Linked DNA regions of Homo sapiens: all the other regions are linked to region 3. Evidence: promoter capture Hi-C in human tissues and cell types (Jung and others, 2019). All regions are on one chromosome and are shown on one strand. The core of a region is centred on a gene start or on the middle of the fragment in contact, and the rest is flanking DNA. Distances in the headings are between cores, read along the strand shown.

What was found. Contacts are between HindIII fragments. The study calls those that stand out against the background at their distance.
Region 1: a contact is called between a fragment that was not itself captured here and the fragment with the promoter of TRMT10B in region 3, in 1 of the 25 tissues and cell types used here (dorsolateral prefrontal cortex).
Region 2: a contact is called between a fragment that was not itself captured here and the fragment with the promoter of TRMT10B in region 3, in 1 of the 25 tissues and cell types used here (IMR-90 fibroblasts).
Region 4: a fragment that was not itself captured here is called in contact with the fragment with the promoter of TRMT10B in region 3 in 1 of the 25 tissues and cell types used here (dorsolateral prefrontal cortex).

Annotation. Positions count from the first base shown.
Region 1 is chr9:37,558,137-37,560,836 of GRCh38, forward strand. All of the region lies in intron 1 of FBXO10 (F-box protein 10), which reads right to left. Among named protein-coding and RNA genes, the nearest start is that of FBXO10, 17 kb to the right of the region's middle. The HindIII fragment of the contact is 7,023 bases long and covers 1-2,700 here.
Region 2 is chr9:37,617,321-37,620,020 of GRCh38, forward strand. It overlaps a transcript of FRMPD1 not described here. Among named protein-coding and RNA genes, the nearest start is that of TOMM5, 26 kb to the left of the region's middle. The HindIII fragment of the contact is 7,750 bases long and covers 1-2,700 here.
Region 3 is chr9:37,752,402-37,755,101 of GRCh38, forward strand. It overlaps TRMT10B (tRNA methyltransferase 10B), which reads left to right and starts at 1,404. Exons shown (of 9, transcript NM_144964.4): 1 at 1,404-1,451. RefSeq lists a silencer at 1,314-1,548. The HindIII fragment of the contact is 14,807 bases long and covers 1-2,700 here.
Region 4 is chr9:37,578,707-37,581,406 of GRCh38, forward strand. No RefSeq gene overlaps it. Among named protein-coding and RNA genes, the nearest start is that of FBXO10, 3.7 kb to the left of the region's middle. The HindIII fragment of the contact is 3,211 bases long and covers 1-2,700 here.

The DNA of each region.
Region 1 (2,700 bases), core at 51-2,550, 190 kb before region 3:
TCCATGATGTTCTTTCCTTCTACAAGGGGCAACTCTGACAGGTGTTCAAGAGTGAATCAGCTAACACTAAAGGAACCTAATCTATACCACCTTCCAGGTGAGAGGCTTCCATATGGTCTTTTGCAGGACTTTCCATTAGGGTTCTCCTGGGATCTATTGCTAATGGTTGGTATTCCAAGTCTCAGGAGGGACTTGGAATAAGAGAGACCCAAATTGCAACCACCAACCCTCATAAATGCATCTCTGCTTCTCAACTCGAGCCTAGTTTACTTTACTATATAAGTGTTCAACCCAGTCAATGCATTGTGTGCCCCATGTGACATCCCATAGTATCCAGCACTGACAATTTCTCTCCCAGATGGGTTTCCCCCATTTCCCATAGTAGCTCATCAATAATGAATACCCTAGGCTATCATAATTCACTTACAGAGAATACAGCAAGAACCCCACATACCATCCAATATGCAGCACAAAGTACAGGCTTAATAACAGTGTTTTTAAGTAAACGAATAATCAGAAATGAGCCCCCATCATGCCCCCACCTCAAATTTTAGGTGAATAATTAATGTATCACCCATTAGGTGATAGCAACCATTTGCTGTCATAGCTAATAACAATGTGAGATAGAAGGAATTAAGCACTACTGCAGCTTATAGAGATCAAGAAGAAAGAAAATCTTTTTTTTTTTTTTGAGATGGAGTTTCGCTCTTGTTGCCCAGGCTGGAGTGCAATGGTGTGACCTCAGCTCACCGCAACCTCCACCTCCCAGGTTTAACTGATTCTCCTGCCTCAGCCTCCCGAGTAGCTGCGATTACAGACGCGCACCACCACGCCCGGCTAATTTTTTGTATTTTTAGTAGAGACGAGGTTTCACCATGGTCAGGTTTGTTTTGAACTCCTGACCTCAGGTGATCCGCCCGCCTCGGCCTCCCAGAGTGCTGGGATTACAGGCATGAGCCACCGCGCCTGGCCGAAAAAAGAAAATCTTTAAGCCAGACTTAGTAGGACCTCCCATAGCAGTGATTCTTTAATCGTGGCTCTTCAGTCATCACCTGAGAATCACCTGGGGCCTATTCCTAGCTTCATCTCAGACCTCCAGAATCAGAATCTCTGGAGTGGAACCAATTATGTGCATTTTTAACAAGCTCCCTGGTGATTGTGATAAAGGGCCCCACCCACACTTTGATGCAGCATCCTTCTTCCTCAGCTTCAACCCTTTCAGTGAAGCAGCTGTCTCTGTATCATGCAAAGACCAATCATTTCAAAGCCAAAAGACCTGGGGTCAAGTTGCAGGTGACCTTGAACAAGTCACTTAACCTCTCTGGGCCTCAGGTTCCTCATATATAAATTGGGGACCTTGATAGCACCCAAAGGCTTGCTGTGATGATTAAAAAATTGAAAGCACATTACATTGGGAATCAATGCTCTTCATCAACTGCTTCCAGTTTTCTTTCCTTCTGGGCACATGACAAGATTGTACATCTGATCCCTCCTGAGGTCAAATGGGGCCACAAGACTAGTACTAACCAATGGGTTTTGAGTAGAAGAGATGTGCGTTACTTCTCGACTAGAGCACTTCATTGCCTATGCAGGATCATCCACAGCTTGCTTTTCTCTGTGGCACAGCAACTGGCAACATTTGAGATGACGGTTACTCTAGGAACCTGGATCCTTAAATGATTAGAGTAAGCAGAGATCCCGACCAAGCCAAGATGGACAAACACCATGCATGAAAAATACACCTTTGTTTGGGTTAAGGCACTAAGAACTTGCAGATTGTTTGTTACCATAGCAGAGGCTGAAAGAGCATATGAAACTCTAAAGGGCATTATTATAAAGCCCTCGGACACCTTGAGATTGACTTCACTACTCTTCCCCAGGTGGTGTCAGTTCTGACCCCTTGGAGCCACTGGTGCTCGACCCTCTTTCACAAGTTGCATGATGGGAAAGGCCCTGAATGCCAGACTAAGAAGCTTGTACTGTCTATTATAGATTCCTCAGAAGGGAAGTGGCCTGATCAGAGCTATATTTTAAGGAGATCCATCCAGGAGAGGTATTTAGGTGGAACAGTGAGGGCAGGAACTCACAATTTTGCAAATATTAATTGTAATTTCTTTCCCTTAGGATGATGTGAGGGTGTCTGGGGGATTTGGGGCCAAGCCACCTGACGTAGAAACTACTGGAGCTTCGGTTTCTTGGGGTTCCAAGAAGCCCACCTATAGTAGGAAGCACATGGTTTAGTCACTGGCCTCTCAGGGGAAGGGGGATTTCCTAGCAGGTTACTGTCAACCCTTCAGCATTTGTTTTCCCCCAAACTTGCCTGTGTACCCAACTCCAGGGCTCTGTATCTAGAATGAAGCCAACAATTGCCCCCTCTTGACTCCGAGCACACATGCACATTTCCTATCATTCCATTTGGCTTTATTTACTATATCTTTACACTAATCCATGGAGATTCATGAAACAACAGGGACTTCTTAGAACAAGGTAACACTTTTTATTTTATTTTTTTTAATGCATTCAAGTTTTGCCTTTCCGTTTTACCACTGGGGCCTCTGCATGTGGAATTAAAAGTAACAAATGTCCCCAGAGCCTGTGCACCTGGAGTGTGATGCCTGTAAAGAACTGGAAAAACAATGATGGAAGCCTGTCTGGGATGGAGGGAGTATGGCCTGAAGTAGGCCCCAAGTGGTTCCGTTT
Region 2 (2,700 bases), core at 121-2,620, 140 kb before region 3:
GACACTCTGACCTCAGAGAGCGTTGCATTCAGTACATGCCAGAGCCAGACTGCCTGGTTTCAAATGCAGGCTCTACCACTTGCCCACTGGGATAAGTCTTACTGGCTCTGTGCCTGTTTCCTCACATGTAAAATGGAGAAATGATAGCACTCACTTTATAGAATTATTGTGAGGATTAAATATGCTAATGTAGGTACAGTGCTTAGAAAAGTATCTGGCACATAGTAAATGCTCAGTAAAATTAGCCATTATTATCTTTTGATTAAATTGAGTTCATGATCCCAATCCAATCTGACCACTTGACCGGATTCGGGAGACACTGTGTCCTCATTAATTCCCTAATTCTAAGCCATCCCTTGAGGTGGATTACTTTCTAAATGGGTCATCTTAACCATTTTTAAAGATCCCTACTGATGTAATTATCAAACCTCATCTGGAATTCTTGTGTCACACTCTGGGCGGTCCCTACAGTTTGCCCCTGTTGTACCTTCCTTCCTACTTTCCTAAAAAGGCCTGCCTAAAGTGACTCTGAGTTCACTGGACAGCTGCCCTTTCGTGGGTCCCAGCAGCCCTCTGGTCTTTAGAACTCCCCATGAGAGCCCATTCTTTGCATGCTTTGGAGCTCAGCAGCCTTCCTGAGTCTTCTCAGCTAGTGATGTTCGGATGACTGAGCTTGTAGGAAAGGGTGGGGCAGCCCCAGCTGACTCCAGAAAGGAAATGAGGTCTGTCCACACAGACAATCGCAGACCAATTAAAATGGTGCATGAGGCAATTAAGGACTGCAAATGAGGTGCCACTGCTCTGAGGTGCCACATAACTGCCAGATAATGATAGCCTTCGGCAGGGACAATACTGTGACTTGGAATTGAATGACTTTTATGACAGGATTAAAACAAAAAGGACAAGACATCTGCAAGACATAAATTCATACTTTCAAATTGAATCTTTAATACAGTTCAATCTCACAAATATTTATGAAACAGGGGGGAACAGTGCTGGCTGTTACAGGGGACAAATGAATAGGTGACACTCAGCCCCTGACCCAAGAGTGGCAGTTCTCCCTCTCCACTGCTACTTCTCATCAGCAACAACAGCCTCTTTTACCTGGAATACTACACTCATCCCGATTGGTCTCCTTGTCTCTTTTCTCATCCACAATCCATACAAAACAACTTTGGGCACATAAATTTCCCAGCCAAAAATGCTTCCCCAAAATGAGAAGCATTTTTGAGTGGGAAATAGCCTACATATTAAGTGTCAATACCTTACAAGTATTGAAAGCCCCCACAGATTGGTCCAAATTAACCTTTCCAGGTTTTTTTCTTCCAATCATACACCTCTCCCTGACCATATACCCTATATGCCAGCCTCATTGGTTTACTGCAGTTCCCTCAAACACACTGTCTCATTCTTTCCCCTTCTTCTTGCCTTCTCTGAATCTGTTACAAAGCATCATCTCTCTTTCGGTCTCTGACTAGAGAAATCTTGCTCACCTTTCAAAGCTCCTCTCAAATGCCACTTCTTCCCTAAAGCACTCCATGGCATTTGCCTCCTTTAGTGGGAGGAGGCAAATCTGTGTCCATGTCATCCTCTGTTGCACTTGGTTTATCCTTCTGTTGCGTAGCTTTCCTCCTGTGAGCTCCCTGCTGAGCCAGTCCTGGGATTGACTTTATCATTTTCCTCTCCCACAGCACAGCCTAGCACAGGATTTATGTGGAGTGAATTATACTGAATGGAATGGAGGAGATAAACCCAGCCCCAAGTGACTAATGTAAACCGACATGCCATAAGGTTCTATGACAGAGCTCTAAAGTGGAACAGAATTCAGGTTGGAGTGCGGATGAAATTTTTTCCAAACAGGGAAAACTTGGGAACGTTTCCATTTTTTTTCCATGTAAACCTTTCCTGACATCTCTGTGACATGCATCCCACCTGTAACTGTCCCCCTTTGTGATATTCACAACCCGGGCCTATAACTGGAAAATACTTGAGGTCAGAGATCTTTGTTATTTCCTTATACTTACTTCAGGGCTTGGCACATAGCAAGGGCTCAACAAATGTTTGTGGGAGAAGGGTAAAGAGGGTAGGAGGAAGAAAAGAGAGTTGTATTAATATAGAAATGGAGTAGGGCAAAAGCTGCAGAGAAATTGAATCAAGGCCAGTGCAGTGGCTCATGCCTGAAATCCCAGCACTTTGGGAGGCCAAGGTGGGTGGATCACCTGAGGTCAGGAGTTTGAGACCCGCCTGGCCAACATAGCAAAACCCCATCTCTACTAAAAGTACAAAAATTAGACAGGTGTGGTTGTGGGTGCCTATAATCCCAGCTACTTGGGAGGCTGAGGCAGGAGAATCAGTTGAACCCAGGAATTGGAGGTTGTGGTGAGCCGAGATTGTGCCACTGCACTCCAGCCTGGGCGACACAGCGAGACTCCAGCTCAGAAAAAAAAAAAAAAGAAATTGAATCGAAAAAGGTTTAGTCACATATTATGTGGGGACCCTGCCGTATAGTCTTGGTGGATTAGCTTGATATAGTGAAGGTGCTTACTAGCTACATACTGCTTTTTGTAGGTGCCAATTGACACTGAGTAGACAGGGGAAAAAAAAAAAAAAACCTGTATTCCCAGATTCATTTGTTTCTATCCTCCCCCACATCCTGGAGTTGGTGCTGTGATATATTCCCCAGTAGGAGATTACTGGGAG
Region 3 (2,700 bases), core at 154-2,653:
ACTTGGAGAACCTTTATGTTTAGCTAAGGGATTGTAAATACACCAATGAGCACTCTGTATCTAGCTCAAGGTTTGTAAATGCACCAATCAGCACTCTGTGTCCAGCTCAGGGTTTGTGGATGCACCAATCGGCACTCTGTGTCTAGCTAATCTGGTGGGGACTTGGAGAATCTTTATGTATAGCTAAGGGATTGTGAATGCACCAATCGGCACTCTGTATCTAGCTCAAGGTTTGTAAATGCACCAATCAGCACTCTGTGTCTAGCTCAGGGTTTGTAAATATACCAATCAACACTCTGTGTCTAGCTAATCTAGTGGGGACTTGGAGAACTTTTGTGTCTAGCTCAGGGATTGTTAACGCACCAATCAGCACCCTGTCAAAACGGACCAATCAACTCTCTGTAAAACAGACCAATCGGCTCTCTGTAAAGTGGACCAATCAGCAGGATGTGGGTGGGGCCAGATAGGAGAATAAAAACAGGCTGCCCGAGCAAGCAGCGGCAACCCGTTGGGGTTGCCTTTCTGGACTGTGGGTGCTTTGTTCTTTGTAATAAATCTTGTTGCTTGCTAACCCTTTGGGTCCCTACTGTCTTTGTGAGCTATAACACTCGCCGTGAAGATCTGTATTTGCAGCTCTTTCTTGAGGCCCGTGTGACCACGAACCCACCGAGAGCGAAGGAACAACTCCAGGTGTGCCCTCTTAAGAGATTTAACACTCATTGCGAAGATCTGCAGCTTCACTCCTGAAGCTAGCGAGACCATGAACCCGCCAGAAGGAAGAAACTCCAGACACGCAGTCTTTAAGAATTGTAACACCGCGATGGTCCGCGGTTTCATTCTTGAAGTCAGTGAGACCAAGAATCCACCATTTCCGGACACAATATGATATCAGGTTGGAATTTGATATTTTAGTTCTACAAAGATTCTGTTGTGTCAGTCCCCGTTGGGCCTAAACTCCGCAAGGGATGGGATATAATATCAGTGCATGTCCAACCGCCCCGCTCCACTCCCGCTTCCTGTAATGGCCATAACTAGTTTTTAAGGTTTCCTTCGGCAGAGAGGGAGGTCCATTCAGTCGGGTGCGGGCCTTAGAATTTTTTTGCTTCACACACCCCAGTTTCGCAATGTCCAGCCCTTGACAACCAACAGAGCACCTGTAGGAGCCCTGTGAAGTTGGTAAAGGGTTGGGGTTGTAATAGCTGTCCAGCAGACGGGGAGACAGGGGTTCAGAGAAGGTGGGCAACCACCACAGCAGGACGCAGCTCCCTACCGCCAGGGCTGGGAGTAGAAGCCGCAGCCTCCGCTCCGGCTCGGCCCCACGAGCACCCTGCAGGTGAAAAACTACAATTTCCAGAATGCCATTCGGAGCGGAGTTACGAAGCGGAAGCGAGGCCGGGGGCGGGGGGGATCCGATGCGCGCCGCTGCCGCTGCGTGGGGGTGAGGGGATCAGGTACGCTGTCCGCTGGTTAAGGGGGCTGGCTGGGGGCTGCGGGGTCTGTCCTGGGACGTCCGCCTCCCTCGCGGGTGGGGCGGACGTTGAGAAAGCAGCGTTTAGCAGTCATGTGGCCTGTGGTACTCCACCTTCCTGATACTTTCCCTTCCTGCTTCCACTCGCACGCTCAGCCTGTGGGCCGGGAGAGACCCGCAGGCGGGGTGCTCTCAGGCTGAATTCGATGTGCCATCACTTAGCGGCAGTGTAGGTACCCATCAGGTGGGAGTTAGGCTAGCAAAGGTCTGAGGCCTCTGCCAACCTAGGGTGGGGGTGCGGAGTGGAGGATTTATGAACTCAGCAAGTATTTATTAAGCATCTATAAGCAAACAACACTTGCCTACATTGAAGGGATGGAGGAGGTTCCGACAACAAGTAAAATAGGTTATGTTGGATAGTAATATGAATGAGGAGAGGAAGGTAGTCTGTGAGTGTCTTAGGGAAGAGCATTGAGGGTAAAGAGAACGGCGAATGTAAAGGCCTTGAAGGGTATGTTTGAGGAACAGCAAATAGACCCCGGAGTGCAGAGGAAACGAGAAAGGTAGACCTTAGTGATCTGCATAGGTCATTGTATGGATTTGGGCTATTTACTGTCAGTGAAATGGAGAGTACTGCAGGGTTCTAAGCAGAAGAGTGGTGATCATCAAATACTTAGGATGCTCACAGGGCTCGGGTACTGAGGGTGTACAGGTGAATTCTTCCAATTCTTCCCTGGGTTTATAATCTAGTGGGGAAACAGGTAGACAGCTGTCATGCAAGGCAGGGTCAGATAATTGGAGCCCCATGAAAGCAGAACGAATGTCATCCCCAAGTCCCCAGGATGTACTATTATGTCAGGTGCTTAGTAGCTTTGTTGAACGAAAGTAATGAATATTCAGCATCGGACCCATAATTGGAGGCTCAGAAAAGATGTTTAATGAAGAAATGAAAAATAAATGAAATCTCACTTCTTGATACTGTTACAATGGCAATTAAGTTTCAACCTGAATGTGAGAAGGGGACAAACATTCAAACCAGAGCAGCACTCAAATTCATAAGATAGGAAATACAAAGGTGCTGCCAGGATTGGGGAAGGGAGAGTTATATAAAGGTCACAGGGTCGGGTGTGGTGGCTCACGCCTGTAATCCTAGCACTTTGGGAGGCCCAGACAGGTGGGTCGCGAGGTCAGGAGATCGAGACCATCCTGGCTAAAATGGTGAAACTCCGTCT
Region 4 (2,700 bases), core at 57-2,556, 170 kb before region 3:
TCAGGAGGCTGAGGCAGGAGAATCGCTTGAACCTGGGAGGTGGTGGTTGCAGTGAGCAGAGATCGTGCGCCACTGCACTCCAGCCTGAGTGGCAGAGTGAGACTGTGTCTCAAAAAAAAAAAAAAAAAAGCAGTTCACTTGTAATCCCAGCTACTCAGGAGGCTGAGGCAGGAGGATCGCTTGAACCCAGGAGTTTGAGACCAACCTGGGCAACGAAGCAAGACCCTGTCTCTAAAAAAGAAAAGGAGTTGGATACAGACCTCCGGAATTTACGAGAGAATATCAGCTATAGAAACATAATTTACCAAGAATACTATGAAAAAGAAATTATTACACGAAATTGTGGCCTGAAATAATTGACCCCGTGGTCCTACTGACCTTTTTCAGTCCCTGGTTCTATAGAATATATTCCATAAAAATGTATTCCATCTATTATTACCATATGGTGAATGTGGTATGATTCTGGGTGAGGTCTAAGTTACCATGTAGCTGGTCTCTTTTATAAATAAGAAAACCAAACACTAAAACCTAAAGCCAACAATTTATTTTAAGACACAAAGTTGTACAGTAGCTAGGTATAGTAGAAAGACCACAGGGGTAGTCTCACACTGCAATGAGCCTGATGATTTACCTTGCTGACTGACAAAGCTATGCCATATTTAATCCTTTGAAAAGTATCTTACTCCATGAAACTGGCAGTCCAGATATGACTGTCAATAAACAATCAAAAGCTTGAGTTTCTGGATTTGTGCCAGCTAACATTATCATTTTGGTATTTGTATAAAACAGCTGACTTTCAAAGTGCTACAGCAGTGTCCTACAAGAGCAAGCTGTCTTCCCTATTAGTGGGGCAAGCATCACGTGCCACATGGGAATTTTTGTTTGTTTTGAGATGGGGTTTTGCTCTTGTCGCCCAGACTGGAGTGCAATGGCATGATCTTGGCTCACCGCAACCCCCACCTCCCAGGTTCAAGCGATTGTCCTGCTTCAGCCTCCCCCGTAGCTGGTATTAACAGGTACCAGCCACTAGGCCCAGCTAATTTTTGTATTTTAGTAGAGACGGGGTTTCACCATGTTGGCCAGGCTGGTCTCAAACTCCCGACCTCAGGTGATTCGCCCGCCTCAGCCTCCCAAAGCTCTGGGATTACAGGCATGAGCCACCACACCTGGCCAGGGGTTTTTTTTTTTTTTTTTTTTTTTTGAAACAGAGTCTCGCTCTGTTGCCCAGGCTGGAGTGCAGTGGCTCAGTCTCAGCTCACTGCAACCTCCACCTCCTGGGTTCAAGCGATTCTTCTGTCTCAGCCTCCCAAGTAGCTGGGACTACAGGCTTTCGCATTTTCAGTAGAGACAGGGTTTCACCATATTGATTAGTCTGGTCTCAAACTCCTGACCTCAGGTAATCCACCTGCCTCGGCCTCCCAAAGTGGTGGGATTACAGGTGTAAGCCAATGCGCCCAGCCAAAAATATAACTACTTAAATATAAGAACATCATTCACAAACTACAGTTGAGCCCTCTCTTCTTTCTGCCCTCATCTCACCTCTGCATGCCTCTATCCTACCATTAGACTCGAGAGGAAACTTACTCATCTTTATACACTGGCACCTGGCTGGTGTTTACTGGCAAATGTATAAGTGAACACACAAAATCTCCTCAGCCATGGGAGCTTTATTTACTTTGCTTTCCAGAAAAAGTAGGCTCACACAGAGTGGTGTCCCAGGTCAACATAGTGGACATGCCATGCTTTTTGGCTGCCCAGCATCTGAGGTCCCTTCCTACATTTGGGAATTCCTTGTTTATGAGTTTGCTGGGAAGCAGAACATGCCTTTCACTATAGAAGTGGAAATTCCAGGTATTTTCTCTGCTTCTCCTTGTGATTCTATCATGCTACAAATTACTCTTGATTTTGAATTAAGTACCAGAGACACAATAAAGTCTCTGGAATAATTTTCTCTGGGACCATGGCAAGTGCGGCAAGTTCTTAGAGCAACACTGGCTGCCATGATCCAGGGTTCTGTGCATGTGGCTTTGGCAAAGTAAGTGGTGGCACCTAATGTTCAGCAGAAATGGCGTCCTCACTGCCCCAGCTCTGTGGAGTATGACCAAGGAACAAAGGGTGATGTTCCAGTTGCCTACTCTCCAAGCCTAATTCTCTAGGCCTCCTGGTGATACTGAACTCCCTGTTATCCTTTTAATAAAATACTTTTCTTTTTCTGTCAAAATTGGATTTTGGTGTTTGCAACTAAAAAATCTGACTCACATAGTCACATGATAAATAGCAGAGCTGAAACTATAATCTAGGACATTGAAATCCTAATTCTAGTATTCTTTCCATGTAGACAGATCTCTACTTTCCAACAACCCACAATTTTTACATTACATATCGCTGTCCCTAAATCATTTTGTTCACCGAATTTATACTTGAATATGTAAGCTGATTAGTGAACATTTCAAGTGACTGTATTTCAAATGCAGTATTATCTTTGTACATCTGTTTATGTAATAGTTTCTTTCTTTTTTGCATTTTTGGCCTCTATATACTTAAGTGGAAATGAAAATACCCCGCACTTGAACAAACGTGGGAGTTAGGGGCCCCGACACCTGCACAGTCACAAATCTGCATGTAACTTTGACTCCCCAAAAACTTAACTACTAATAGCCTACTGTTGCACAGAAACCTTACCGATAACATAAAAAATAG